3 separate regions of the Homo sapiens genome follow, and regions 1 and 2 are each linked to region 3. Evidence: promoter capture Hi-C in 16 types of primary human blood cells and fetal thymus (Javierre and others, 2016). All regions are on one chromosome and are shown on one strand. The core of a region is centred on a gene start or on the middle of the fragment in contact, and the rest is flanking DNA. Distances in the headings are between cores, read along the strand shown.

The links. The method cuts DNA at HindIII sites, captures the fragments that hold promoters and counts their contacts. A CHiCAGO score of 5 or more calls a contact.
Region 1: a fragment that was not itself captured here is called in contact with the fragment with the promoter of AHCYL1 in region 3 in 2 of 17 cell types (neutrophils and endothelial precursors); the score reaches 5.9 in neutrophils.
Region 2: a fragment that was not itself captured here is called in contact with the fragment with the promoter of AHCYL1 in region 3 in 4 of 17 cell types (erythroblasts, fetal thymus, neutrophils and 1 more); the score reaches 6.0 in erythroblasts.

Annotation. Positions count from the first base shown.
Region 1 is chr1:109,802,651-109,807,452 of GRCh38, forward strand. No RefSeq gene overlaps it. Among named protein-coding and RNA genes, the nearest start is that of LINC01768, 23 kb to the right of the region's middle. The HindIII fragment of the contact is 6,934 bases long and covers 1-4,802 here.
Region 2 is chr1:109,741,118-109,745,838 of GRCh38, forward strand. No RefSeq gene overlaps it. Among named protein-coding and RNA genes, the nearest start is that of GSTM3, 2.4 kb to the left of the region's middle. The HindIII fragment of the contact is 459 bases long and covers 1,107-1,565 here.
Region 3 is chr1:109,981,273-109,986,119 of GRCh38, forward strand. AHCYL1 (adenosylhomocysteinase like 1) reads left to right here and starts at 3,493. Exons shown (of 17, transcript NM_006621.7): 1 at 3,493-3,900. The coding sequence starts at 3,781. RefSeq lists silencers at 3,719-3,788, 3,969-4,038. The HindIII fragment of the contact is 11,948 bases long and covers 1-4,847 here.

The DNA.
Region 1 (4,802 bases), core at 1,222-3,721, 180 kb before region 3:
AATCAGGCTTCCCAGCTGCCCTGGAGCCCAGTGGGGCCGTGAGCTTCCTCCCACCTAGATGCTACTGTCTAGGGTGCATAGGAGGATCCCCACACTGGGGGAAGTGAACTCAGCACTGCCCAGTTTCCTACCAGCTGGGCCCACGATTCTAGGCAGAGCTGGGCCTCCTGGTCTAGCTGCCTGCCCCTCTGCCACCCTGAAGGCCGACGCTGCGCTGCCTACAGGCCTGCTGCTGCTGCTCTCCAGCCTCCCACAGCTGCAGGATTGGGGTGTGAGTGAGTGTGTGGAGAAAGGGTTTCTGGGTTCCATTCCTGGCAAGGACTCTAAGACCTCCTGAGCCAACCTCTTGTCAGTGATTGTTCTGCTGCCCAGGGCTTCTGGGGCTGGTGACTGACTTCTCAGTGGCCCCGATTTTGTGTTCTTGTTGCTGACTCTTGGAAACCAAATGCTGGCAACCAGCCTGTGCCTGCCAGACTCCAGGCTGGGACCGTTAGATACATGATTGCTTTTCAAATTTGGAACAAGCAAAACATAAGCATGCTCATCAACACTCTTGTACAGAGAAGGAAAATGAGTCAGGATTGGGTGCCTTTTTCCAGTCTGCCTGCCAACTTTCTCCACCTTGCTCTGCCCCCTAGGACTGTGGGAACTACGTCTATGGGTGCCCTTACCCTCTGCCTTGGTCACTGGGGAGCGCCGATAGCTTATGGGAGGCAGAGAGGAGAGTGAGGTCAGGGCACTTAACCTCCTGTGGGGCAGCCACAGCCTGGCTGCATCCCTCCATGAGGCCACAGCTGCTGCCAGGCAGCCCTATCTACTCAGCTCCAGAGCTCTGCAGGTCCAGTGACCTCCCCTGGGGCCATCAGGTCCAGCATCAGGAAAGCCTGATGCTCTTGGTCCAGGTTCCTGCAATCCTTTTCCAAGACCTTTGACAATAGTCTCCTTATTGAATACTTCTCAAATCCCCCAGTTTGAGTATGTTGACGGCTTCCTCCTGGGACCCTGCATTATCCATACCATCCAGCCAGTTGATCAGCAAGGACTCCTGGGTCTGCCAAGTCACTACAGACTGCAGCTGGGCTATAGGAGGGGGTGCCCCTTTCTAATTCCTGCTCTTTTTTCTGGCTCTGCTCATACCCTCATCCATGTACCCCCTATTTCCCTGCTTTGCCTCCCACCCCAACCTACAGTGCTTCCCCTGCCAGATGTCTGGGGATGTTTAGAAGAGGAGAGTCACAGCCAAACAACTGCTTCTCCACCCCAGCCACCCTGATGCATCCGGGAAGTGGTGCTCACTGGGATCTGAGTTCTTAGGCGTCATAGGGCAGTCATGGAGGCCCTGGGTCCTTGAGACAGGTGTCCTGGAAGCCAGTGCACGGAAGCAGGGTGATTTCACATTGCTGGAAGAGTCCTCTTCTCTGGGGACCCTTCGCCAGTAAAACCCACCCTCTCACCTACTCACTCACTTGCAATTCAGAGAGGCTGGCTCACCACCAGGCCCACCCCAAGGGATCTGTGTATCACTTCCTGTGGGAGGCTCTCCCTGGCACCCGGCGGAGGCTGGCTGCCCATCGCATGCTCCCAGCACATCCCGTCTCTCCTCATGCTGTAACCCTTATCACACTGACATGGCTTGTCTGTTGTCCACGTCCACCACTGTACCCGCCACAACCTGGAATCCCTTGCACCTGGCACAGTGCTGGGCACACAGAGAGGGCTCAACAAATGTTTGTTAAATTAAAATGGAAAAAAAGGTATTTCAATCAATACTATGCAGGTTGCTCTTCCTGTATCTAGGTGGCCACTGAGAGAACAATGACCAGCTCTGCAGCTGGGGTCCTAAAGAGAAAACCAGCCTGCTGAGTCTGGAGACTGGGCTCTGTCCCTGCTGTGCCTCATGCTAAGTGTGTGCCTGTGGTCAAAGTCTCTGAGCTTTAGGTTTCTCATCTGTAAGATGGAGATAGTACTTACCTTAGTTTTCTATTGCTTCATAATAAATTATCACAAACTTATGGGCTTATAACAGCGCACATTTTTTAGGCTTAGCTGGGTCCTCTCCAGGGCTGCAGTGAAGGTGTCAGCCAGGGCTGGGTTCTTCATCTGGACGCTCAACTGGGGATGGATCCACTTCCAGGCTTATGAAGGTTGTTAGCAGAATTCATCTCCTTGTGGTTGTAGAACTAAAATCTTTGTGGTAACTGTTGGTCGGGGGCTGCTCTCAGGTCCTAGAGGCTGCCTGTAATTCCTTACCACAAAGCCTCTCTGTATGCCCCTTCAGATCATGGCACACACTTCTTCAAATTCAGCAAGGAAGAAAATGTCTAGCACCAGTCTGCTAGTAAGCCCAGGTCTTTTTTTTTTTTTTTTTCTTTTTTGAGACGGAGTTTTTCTCTTTGTTGCCCAGGCTGGAGTGCAGTGGCACGATCTCGGCTCACTGCAACCTCCGCCTCCCAGGTTCAAGTGATTCTCCTGTCTCAGCCTCCTGAGTAGCTGGGATTACAGGTACGCACCACCATGCCCAGCTAATTTTTGTATTTTTAGTAGAGATGGGGTTTCACCATGTTGGCCAGGCTGGTCTTGAACTCCTGACCTCAGGTTATCCGCCCGCCTTGGCCTCCCAAAGTGCTGGGATTATAGGTGTGAGCCACCATGCCTGGCCAAGCCCCCGTCTTTTATGGAATGCTTCATGAATTTGCATGTCATCCTTGCGAGCCCACGTTTTTTATAATATAACATAATCATAGAAATGACGTCCCATTCCCTTTGCTATATTTCCTTGTTTAGGAGCTACTCACAGGTCCTGCCCTATTTGAGGGCTGGGGGTCACAGAAAGGCATGGACATGGAGTCACTCCAGAGCTCTAGGAGCTAGAGTCTGAATCCTACAATGCTAATCTCTATCTCCTAGATTTCTGGAGAGAATTAAGTGAAAGAATGCCTGGCACTTAGTAAGAACTCAGGAAATGTCACAGAAGGCAGCAGAAGCAGCTGTCTTTACTTTGGCCCACTTTGAAATGTTGGCTCACAGCTTGTCCTCAGTCTGCACCTGCCCTGTTGCTTCCACCACGCTGCTGTGGTCACTTTTATCACGTGGCTGGATCTTGAAGGCAGTTGAATTTGCTAAGTGGTATTAGCTGGAACGATCAACAGGTGTTATTATCATTTTAATTAAAAGTTCTTGGAAGATAAGAACCCATCTTACCAATGTTTTCAGCCTCTGGTGCTTAGCTTGTTGAGCTTAGGATGTTGGCTTTAGCTTGGCTGCTCTGTAAGTGTTGAGCCATTGTACCCCCTAGAATGATGTAATTGAGTTCAGAGCTACAGCCTCAGGGTACAAGTGATGGTTGGTGGGGAGAAGGGAGCAGGCATGGGTTGGATGGGCAAGATAGGTGACAGCTGGGAGGAGCAGTAAGAGTCTTGGCAGGTCCCCGAGTCCAGATCCTGCCAGGGGAAGCGCCTCGGCCCTGCCGCCACGCCCACCCACCCTCCCAACTCCTGGATGCTCCAGGCTTTCTTCCATTCTTTCTGTTCAGCTCCCCTCACACCCCTACCCCCAAAGCAGAGTGGAGTGCAGTGGCGCCATCTCGGCTCACTGCAAGCTCCACCTCCCGGGTTCACACCATTCTCCTGCCTCAGCCTCCCGAGTAGCTGGGACTACGGGCACCTGCCACCACGCCCCACTAATTTTTTGTATTTTTAGTAGAGACGGGGTTTCACTGTGTTAGCCAGGATGGTCTCGATCTCCTGACCTTGCGATCCACCCCCTCGGCCTCCCAAAGTGCTGGGATTACAGGCGTGAGCCACTGTGCCCAGCTGGGCCCTGTCCCTTCTAATGTGGGAATAGAAGCCTGATTCTTTCACAGACATAGAGCTTCTGGGCCGGGAAGGGCCTTAGGCTTGGGGTGAACAACTGTCTTTAGGATGCAGGTGAGTTGTGTCTATTGAGCACCTACTTGTGCCACTGGGCTCTGCACTTTACATACTTCATTTCCACCATTTTTCAGTCTTCAAGGTGGATAAACCAAAGCCCAGAGAGGGAAAGCGGTTTTTTCTGGTCACATAGCTGCTAGGCGGCAAAGTTAGGACCAGAGTTTCGGTGACCTGAGCCACTGATCCAGGATTGCCTCTCTGTGACACTCCCTCCCACCCAAGTCTGTGGGCCCCCTGGTGTCAGTAGTGGAGCGTGTCTGCCTTGGCCCTAGTCCGGTTCTTCATACAGGCTGCTCTGACTCCCACCCACAGTGTCTTCCTTCCCGCCACCCTTCCTTCCAGAACTTGGCTCCAGCCTCCTACCAACTCTGTCCCACATCCCTCACCCCCAGCCTGGCCCAGAACCAGCTGGGGCAGATGGTCCAGACCCTGAGTGTATTCTTTCCCGGCAGGGACAGAAGCAGTTTGAGGCTTACACATCTGGGCAGCTGTTGCCCAACTTTGATCTGCAGGAAATAAGCCAGAGGGATCCTTCCTGTCACTTCTGGGCTGGACCCTGGCCCTGAGAGTTGGAGTCTCCTCAGAGAGGCAGAGGCCTTCCTCAGCTGTGGGAGGGGGTGGTGGCAGCAAGAAGCTAGGGTACTGCGTGGGTGGGGTCACCTGGCCTGGGACTGGGGGCAGCCAGACTGGAAGTTCACCCTCTCTCCTCAGGTAGAAAAGTGGACAGAAGCCCAGAGGCAGTAGCCCAGGGCCAGGCCTGTAAGAGCCTGTAAACATCTGAAACTGTCAGTTTCTTCCAGGGATGTTTTTGTTATCACATCTGATTTCCCTCAAGGAGTCAGTGGTAAAGCCCTTACAAAGCATGTCTTCAGG
Region 2 (4,721 bases), core at 86-2,585, 240 kb before region 3:
TTATTATAATTTCCTCCTCCAATCCCTCCCACTTCCTAATGCTCACGCATTTAGGGAAATTAATCTTGCCTCTTTGTGTAGGATGGACTGGAGGAGGAAAGGTACTACCATTTTTCATTCACTCATTCATCTGTCCAACAATGTTTAACATGCCTGTTATGGACAGGCACTGTTTTAGGTGCTGGGGATACAGAACTGAACTCAACAGACAAAATCCCTGCCCTCAGGAAGTTTACATTCTAATGGGGAAGAAATAAACTAATATATAGTAAATAGCTAGTAAGTCAGGTGGTGATACACATCCTATGGAGAGAAATAAAATCGAGAAGAGAGATAGGGGGTCTCAGGGTGGGAACTGGGGGAGTCCCAGTAGGAAGGGGATTTATGTTTTTAAAGGTTATGTTCATAGAAGGCCTCATGGAGAAGTTAATCTTTAAACAAAGACCTGAAGGAGGTGAGAGATCAAGCCACTCTGCTGTGGGGGCCACCATGGGCTGATATAAATATAAAACAGAATAATTGCTGTTCCTTTTACAAGCATGTTTGCTCTGCTCCTGCCTGCACCCTAATGTCCATGGCCTAGCCTTCCTCAAGTAGCCGTGCTCAAATGCTCACTTCTTCCTTGAAGCCTTCTCAGAATCACCCTCTATCCTGGCCAGAAGAGTTCTCTCCCTCTCTTATCTCGAATCACTTCCTACCTGCAGGAGGCAGAGAGAACTCCAGGAAAAGGGAAACAGCAAGTACAGGAGTGATCACTCTGTGTTTGAAACCAGAGACTAGATGAGATCACCATGGGAGCACGAGTAGCAGAGATGAGGTCTAAGGGTTTGAGGTGCTCTGGCATATCAACATGTAAAGGTTAGGGAAAAATGAGAGCAAACCAGCAAAGGAGTCTGAAAAGGAGTGGCCAGGGAGGTAGGAGGAAAACAAAAGGTCCCAGAAGCCATGTGAAGATGTTTAAAGGGAGAAGTGATCAACTATGTCAAGTGTGGCTGATCAAGTAAGATGAAGATGGAGAATCAATGGTTGAATTTAGGAAAGTAGGGGTTTTGACCTTGACAGAGCAAGAGACCTGCCCGAGGCCCCTATAGTCATGGGAAGAACTAAGCTTCTGAATTTCGGCAGGGCCCATGCAAATGAAAAGGGGCACAGATTTGCAACAGGGTCAACTCGGGAGACATAGGATTCTAGTTGAATGTGGAGGAGTGACAGAGGAAGGAGTCCGGAGCTGCTCTGAGGGTTCTGGCCAGGCCTCTGCAGCACAGCTCTCAGGGCAGTCTGAGAGCCTAGATCCCCTAGCTCAGGTGTGGGAAATCACATTTGCCCATCAGTTCAACTGAAGCAAGGTTGGGACTTTTTAAAAGGGCATTTTGCTAAACAGAAGAAAGGAAGAGTACAAACCACATGGACAGGTGAAATTTATAATGCCTGTGTCTCTCCTCCCAAGAAAGCAAAAGGCCAGTCACAAATTCACCTGAGGTATAAGATTAACATTTATTGAGCACCTATCATATGCCAGGCAATATCTAAGTGTTTACGTATGTTAGCTAATTTATTCCAATTTAAGCTTCACAACAACTTTAGGAAGTAGGTGTTATGCCCATTTTCTTTTCTTTTTCTTTTTTTTTTTTTGCAGTTTTTGCATTACTTTCTTTTTTTTAAATTTTATTATTATTACACTTTAAGTTTCAGGGTATATGTGCACAATGTGCAGGTTTGTTACATATGTATACATGTGCCATGTTGGTGTGCTGCACCCATTAACTCCTCATTTAACACTAGGTATATCTCCTAATGCTATCCCTCCCCCCTCCCCCCACCCCACAACAGTCCCTGGAGTGTGATGTTCCCCTTCCTGTGTCCATGTGTTCTCATTGTTCAGTTCCCACCTATGAGTGAGAACATGCGGTGTTTGGTTTTTTGTCCTTGCGATAGTTTGCTGAGAATGATGGTTTCCAGTTTCATCCATGTCCCTACAAAGGACATGAACTCATCATTTTTTATGGCTGGATAGTATTCCATGGTGTATATGTGCCATGTTTTCTTAATCCAGTCTATCGTTGTTGGACATTTGGGTTGGTTCCAAGTCTTTGCTATTGTGAATAGTGCCGCAATAAACATACGTGTGCATGTGTCTTTATAGCAGCATGATTTATAATCCTTTGGGTATATACCCAGTAATGGGATGGCTGGGTCAAATGGTATTTCTAGTTCTAGATCCCTGAGGAATCGCCACACTGACTTCCACAATGTTGAACTAGTTTACAGTCCCACCAAAAGTGTAAAAGTGTTCCTATTTCTCCACATCCTCTCCAGCACCTCGTTTCCTGACTTTTTAATGATTGCCATTCTAACTGGTGTGAGATGGTAACTCATTGTGGTTTTGATTTGCATTTCTCTGATGGCCAGTGATGGTGAGCATTTTTTCATGTGTTTTTTGGCTGCATAAATGTCTTCTTTTGAGAAGTGTCTGTTCATATCCTTTGCCCACTTTTTGATGGGGTTGTTTGTTTTTTTCTTGTAAATTTGTTTGAGTTCATTGTAGATTCTGGATATTAGCCCTTTGTCAGATGAGTAGGTTGTGAAAATTTTCTCCCATTTTGTAGGTTGCGTGTTCACTCTGATGGTAGTTTCTTTTGCTGTGGAGAAGCTCTTTAGTTTAATTAGATCCCATTTGTCAATTTTGGCTTTTGTTGCCATTGCTTTTGGTGTTTTAGACATGAAGTCTTTGCCCATGCCTATGTCCAGAATGGTATTGCCTAGGTTTTCTTCTAGGGTTTTTATGGTTTTAGGTCTAACATGTAAGTCTTTAATCCATCTTGAATTAATTTTTGTATAAGGTGTAAGGAAGGGATCCAGTTTCAGCTTTCTACATATGGCTAGCCAGTTTTCCCAGTACCATTTATTAAATAGGGAATCCTTTCCCCATTGCTTGTTTTTGTCAGGTTTGTCAAAGATCAGATGGTTGTACATATGTGGCATTATTTCTGAGGGCTCTGTTCTGTTCCATTGATCTATATCTCTGTTTTGGTACCAGTACCATGCTGCTTTGGTTACTGTAGCCTTGTAGTATAGTTTGAAGTCAGGTAGCATGATGCCTCTGGCGTTGTTCTTTTGGCTTAGGATTGACTTGGCAATGCGGGCTCTTTTTTGGTTCCATATGAACTTTAAAGTAGTTTTTTCCAATTCTGTGAAGAAAGTCATTGGTAGCTTGATGGGGATGGCATTGAATCTGTAAATTACCTTGGGCAGTATGGCCATTTTCATGATATTGATTCTTCCTACCCATGAGCATGGAATGTTCTTCCATTTGTTTGTATCCTCTTTTATTTCCTTGAGCAGTGGTTTGTAGTTCTCCTTGAAGAGGTCCTTCACATCCCTTGTAAGTTGGATTCCTAGGTATTTTATTCTCTTTGAAGCAATTGTGAATGGGAGTTCACTCATGATTTGGCTCTCTGTTTGTCTGTTATTGGTGTATAAGAATGCTTGTGATTTTTGTACATTGATGTTGTATCCTGAGACTTTGCTGAAGTTGCTTATCAGCTTAAGGAGATTTTGGGCTGAGACAATGGGGTTTTCTAGATATACAATCATGTCATCTGCAAACAGGGACAATTTGACTTCCTCTTTTCCTAATTGAATACCCTTCATTTCCTTCTCCTGCCTAATTGCCCTGGCCAGAACTTCCAACACTATGTTGAATAGGAGCGGTGAGAGAGGGCATCCCTGTCTTGTGCCAGTTTTCAAAGGGAATGCTTCCAGTTTTTGCCCATTCAGTATGATATTGGCTGTGGGTTTGTCATAGATAGCTCTTATTATTTTGAGATACGTCCCATGAATACCTAATTTATTGAGAGTTTTTAGCATGAAGTGTTGTTGAATTTTGTTAGAGGCTGTTTCTGCATCTATTGAGATAATCATTTGGTTTTTGTCTTTGGTTCTGTTTATATGCTGGGTTACATTTATTGATTTGCGAATGTTGAACCAACCTTGCATCCCAGGGATGAAGCCCACTTGATCATGGTGGATAAGCTTTTTGATGTGCTGCTGGATTCTGTTTGCCAGTATTTTATTGAGGATTTTTGCATCAATGTTCATCAAGGATATTGGTCTAAAATTCTCTTTTTTGGTTGTGTCTCTGCCCGGCTTTGGTATCAGGATGATGCTGGCCTCATAAAATGAGTTAGGGAGGATTCCCTCTTTTTCTATTGATTGGAATAGTTTCAGAAGGAATGGTGCCAGCTCCTCCTTGTACCTCTGGTAGAATTCGGCTGTGAATGCATCTGGTCCTGGACTTTTTTTGACTGGTAAGCTATTGATCGTTGCCACAATTTCAGAGCCTGTCATTGGTCTATTCAGAGATTCAACTTCTTCCTGGTTTAGTCTTGGGAGGGTGTATGTGTCGAGGAATTTATCCATTTCTTCTAGATTTTCTAGTTTATTTGCGTAGAGGTGTTTGTAGTATTCTCTGATGGTAGTTTGTATTTCTGTGGGATCAGTGGTGATATCCCCTTTATCATTTTTTATTGCGTCTATTTGATTCTTCTCTCTTTTCTTCTTTATTAGTCTTGCTAGCGGTCTATCAATTTTGTTGATCTTTTAAAAAAAACCAGCTCCTGGATTCATTAATTTTTTGAAGGGTTTTTTGTGTCTCTATTTCCTTCAGTTCTGCTCTGATTTTAGTTATTTCTTGCCTTCTGCTAGCTTTTGAATGTGTTTGC
Region 3 (4,847 bases), core at 2,243-4,742:
CTCCCTCTGTGTCATCCCTTTGCCCTCCACTGCACCCCACCCCCATCACCTGTCCCCACGTAGAGATCAGCACCTCAGCTTATTTATCTCTGTAGTCCCGACTGACATCTAGCCCTGCTGCTGGCACTTCTTCGGCACTCAATATATATTTTATAAATAAAAGAACAAATGACTGAATGTAGAACATCAATTTGGGGGTGGACAAACAGTGAATCTGATTAACAAGACCAAGCCCACGTGTGGTAGCCCAATGCCACTACATTTCTGGTGACAGCATCTCCCAATTCACCACTGCCCTTAGGCCACTCCTTTCTAGCAAGGGTCTTCGCTCCAGGCCCTTGGAGACTTCCCACCACCACACACAGCAGGTGCATCTGTCTTTGGGTCCCTGTTCTTCTCCAATTGCCCCGTGGGGGGTCTCTCACCTGTGTGTGGATGCGCTGTTCAGGGCAGTGAGCTTGCCAGTAGAGGTGCTGAGTCAGGTGGGTGGGTAGGCTGAAGACAAGTCATCTCTTGGCATTCATGAGAAGCAATCGCCTTAGCTGTGCCATGTGAGGCTATCTTAGGATGGGTTTTGGGGGTGGGAGACAGGATGCAATGATTCTCACGGATGTTATGTTGTCACACTCCCTGGCTGGGTGAGCTCTTTGCTCTCCAGCACACACGTGATGGAAGGGATGGCAGCCACCCATGCCCCCTGCAGTGGCTGGTTTCCAAGAATGTCCCGGGCCCCTGGCCTCACTTGAACCACATAGGCCTAATGCTTTCCACCAGGGTAGGGGGTGCTGCCCTTCCCCTTTCCAGTCTGAGTCCCCGAACTCTCCTACATCAGCTCATCAACCTCCCCTCAGGCCAGCCACTCAGGTGAGTGGAGTCTGACCTGCTGATCTCCTTCTTAGCCCAGACTGCTAAGGTACTGCATGCTCTAGGCCTGGCCCTGTCTGTCATCCTCTGTAGCAGCAGCAATAGCAGACAACACTGTGAGCCTGGTGCTAGGGCAGACCTGGTCCAGGAGGAGTAAAGACTGAACTTCAATCTCCAGGAAGCTCACAGTCTGGATGCTTAAATGCACAGCAGAACTGGGGGACTGAGAGACAACATGTTTAGACAAAGTGAGTTCTAAAAATCAAATCCAAAAGACAGATACACTGATGCTTCTCTTTAAAAAAAAAAAAAAAAAAAAAAAAAAGATCTTCTTAAGTCACACATTTTTCTACTATAGGGACTTGAGATTTCATCCCTGGTTCCAATGGGTTCTGCCTCGAGTCTTTGGGCAGGCATCTCTGATCCCTGGGCTCTGCCAACAGTTTGGGCAAACCCACAAGGATGAAAGCCACTGTGAGCCTTATGTTCAGAGAGTCCTTAGTGCACCAGGTGTGGTTCCTGACCCCTAGCTGAAAGATGTCAGTCTGGCACCCTCATGGATGAACCTGGTATTCTGGTCTCCATCTCTGTTCCCGTTCTGCTACAGTGATGCCCCTGACAGGGAAGTGTGAGTGCTCAAAAAAGTGAGCAGATGAAAGAATACAAACAGTTCAAGACCAAGGTCTGCAGATGTGCAAAGGGTGCATTCTTCCAGGCACTTCTACAGCCCTTTTCAAACAGACAGTCTCATGAGGCTAGGTGGCTGGAACACAGGATTCCCTGACTAAGACTTTTAGGGCCCTAGAGGTGAATATTTCACACTCTCCCCAGCCCTGAACACAAATCAGTGGGGAAAATGCCATTTCAAACCAAAACTTCCTTCTTGAAAGGGTATGCCCTGTTAAAAACCTGGGAGGTTTCTGGATGTTAAAAGGTGGTCCTGGCCAGGCGCGGTGGCTCACGCCTGTAATCCCAGCACTTTGGGAGGCCGAGGCAGGTGGATCACGAGGTCAGGATCCGAGACCAGCCTGGCCAAGATGGTGAAACCCCGTCTCTACTAAAAATACAAAAATTAGCCGGGCACGGTGGCGCACGCCTATAGTCCCAGCTACTCACTCAGGAGGCTGAGGCAGGAGAATCACTTGAACCCGGCAGGCGGAGGTTGCAGTGAGCTGAGAGCACTCCAGCTTGGGCAACAGAGCGAGACGTCATCTCAAAAAAAAAAAAAAGGTGGTCCTGGGGAGGAATTTAGGGAAAGGGCACTGGGAAGACTGGAATTGCTCAGCACAGCAGAGGAGAATCTGGCTTCCCAGAGTCTATCAAGGAAGGAAGGATGAGGTGCAGAGATGGGAAGGGAGGAACAGGAGGAAGCTAGATTAGATGGCAATGGGCTAGGGAGCGTGGTGGGATCTTGTGGCCATTGAGAAATCCCCGGGTGGTAAGACAGCCAAAATAACTTTTCAGAACATTTCAGAAATGTGTTCTTAAATTGTTTGCTGTGTGATGTAATCTCTCCCCTGTGACCCACAAACCTTTATTAAAAGTTTTACTACATGTTACAGCCTTATTTTGTAGTTGTTTAGCATGGGGTGGGGGTTGAAAGGAGAAGCGGCTGAATTGACCCCAGGAGCTACAGAAACAGTCACAAGACCAGAATAGTGAATAAAATGCCAGACAAGGCAAAAAAACTAGAGCCAGAGGTGACCATGAAAATCCAAGTCCTCCCAGTAATGGACTTTCCACAGGACATGGTAATTGGAGCCAATGTCATTTGAATCTCAAAGGACAAGCTACCTCAGCTGACATTAGGATACAAGCAGGTTTTGCCTCTCCAGCTGAACTAAGCCTTGCAAAACATAAAATGCGTCACATGTCCTTTTGCCAGCAGGGCCTCAGCACAGGCACTGCACATAGTAGGCCCAGTAAAAGGGTGTGAGCAGTCCATGAATGTCCTGGATGCCCACTGAGAGCTGGAAGGGTCTAATGCTTTGGTGGAGCAAGGACCGGAAGGCCATTCTGGCTGGGGACTTCTCCATCAGCTCTCCTGGTCTCCACCCTCATACCCATCAGCCCTATCCCAATGAGGGTTTTGTAAACAGGCAAGGCCCAGTCGGAGATGGTGGTGGAGGAAGTCACAAAGCGTTGTGCAGAAACCAGACTACTCTGAGTCAGTTCTGCCCCCTATGAAGTCAAAAAGACAGGCACGGCCCCTTGGGAAGGAGCTTTAATCCAAAGGGCCTGGGGCTGGGCCAGTGAGTGAGTGGGCTGTCTCGAGCCCCGGACATTTCCTAGGAATCGCTGTAGGATGTGTCGTGTGGGGCTCTGGTCTTTGCTCCCAAACACCCCTTTCATGCGCCTCTGAGGCCTTGCCAGGAACCCCGCAGCCCAAAGACCCTCCGTTCCGCAGCATCGTTGCATGAACCTCGCGCTGCTCCCAGGGCTGATGGTGCCACCTGGTGGCACAAAGGGTCCTGCTCACCCTGGGAACTTCGCTCTCGAGCGGGAGAGGAACGGCTTCTGTGGCCCAGCCCAGCGTGGTGACGTCACGACAGAGTGCCCTTTCTCCCCGCCTCTTCCCCCTCCCGGGAGCTGCCAGTACTTGACGTGGCGTCACCGCCCTCTACCCTCGCTTTGCGTGCGTGTTTGCGTACAGCGGAGGTGGCGGCGCGGGCAGGTCGGAGCTCGGAGCTGCTGTTCTGGTTCTCTTGTGGCCGCCGTCGCTGTCCGGCTGCCTTGGGCTGCCGAACAGACAAGGCGTGGGCCACAGCACCTCAGAAGCCGACGCAGCTCGACGCAGGGGCCGGCAGGAGGGTGGGCGATCGCGTGTCGGAGGGCGCCGCGCGGGCAGGCGGGCGGGCGCCAGAGGGGGAAAGAGGCGGGGGCGGCGGGTCAGCCGCTGGCCGGGCCGGCCGGGGAATGTCGATGCCTGACGCGATGCCGCTGCCCGGGGTCGGGGAGGAGCTGAAGCAGGCCAAGGAGATCGAGGACGCCGAGAAGTACTCCTTCATGGCCACCGTCACCAAGGCGCCCAAGAAGGTGCGGGGGCTCTGGGTGGCGGCGGGGGCTCGGGCTCCGGCCTCGCGGAAGGGACGCGAGCAAGCCCGGGCTCTGGCTAGTTTGGGACTTCTGGGGGTGACTGGGGACGGCGGAGGTGATGTAGGGGGTGGCGGCTGTGCGGCCCCAGGCCTCTCCCGGGCTGAAAGGCCGCCTCTGACCTCGCTTTCCTTTGTCCCTCGGCCCAAGTCCTCCGGGATCGTTTTGAAACCCGACAGGGCCAGGCCTTAAATTTGCGACTGACTTTTCCTGGATGAAGGGCCTCGAAGACGAGAGTGGGAGGGGGTGAACCAACTCAGCTGACCCTTGTGACCAGTCCGGGGGCATGGGGTGTACAGAAAATCTCCCTTCAGGTGAGTGGGTAAATCTGGCAGAACTTCCATCAAATCTTTGGGAGCAGTGGCCGCTTTATCCAACAACTGCGTGATAGCTGGGAGGCAAGAGAAAAGAATGCGTGAAGCTAGCTCTGATATACAGGTGAAAGCGATGAGGGTAACATGAAACTGAAAATCTATGATTTTCACTTTCTACAGCATTCCAATTACTTCGAAATATGTAAGAAATTGACATTTGGAGGTTGGTGACAGCAGACACTGTCATGGATACAGGTGGATCCTAGAGTCATGTGAATAGATCACTTAGGCATCCCTGGAGAAAGGAGCTTGGGTGGGTTGGAGTAGTGGGTGGTAAGGGAAGATTGCTCACTCTTGACTGTACTTTTGAGGCAGAACAAGTTTGATCTATTGTGCTGTAGGTTGACTCAAAGGACACCCTTCGAATTCTCTCATAAATGGCAACCTTTGGAGATTTTAGTCTGACTAGCTCTCCGAGTGGTGGAATTGGGATCCTTATTGCTTTCTCATCATTTACTGCCAACCACATCTTGATTTTCCATACACCTGGCACCCAGTTAGCAGTAGACCAGAGAA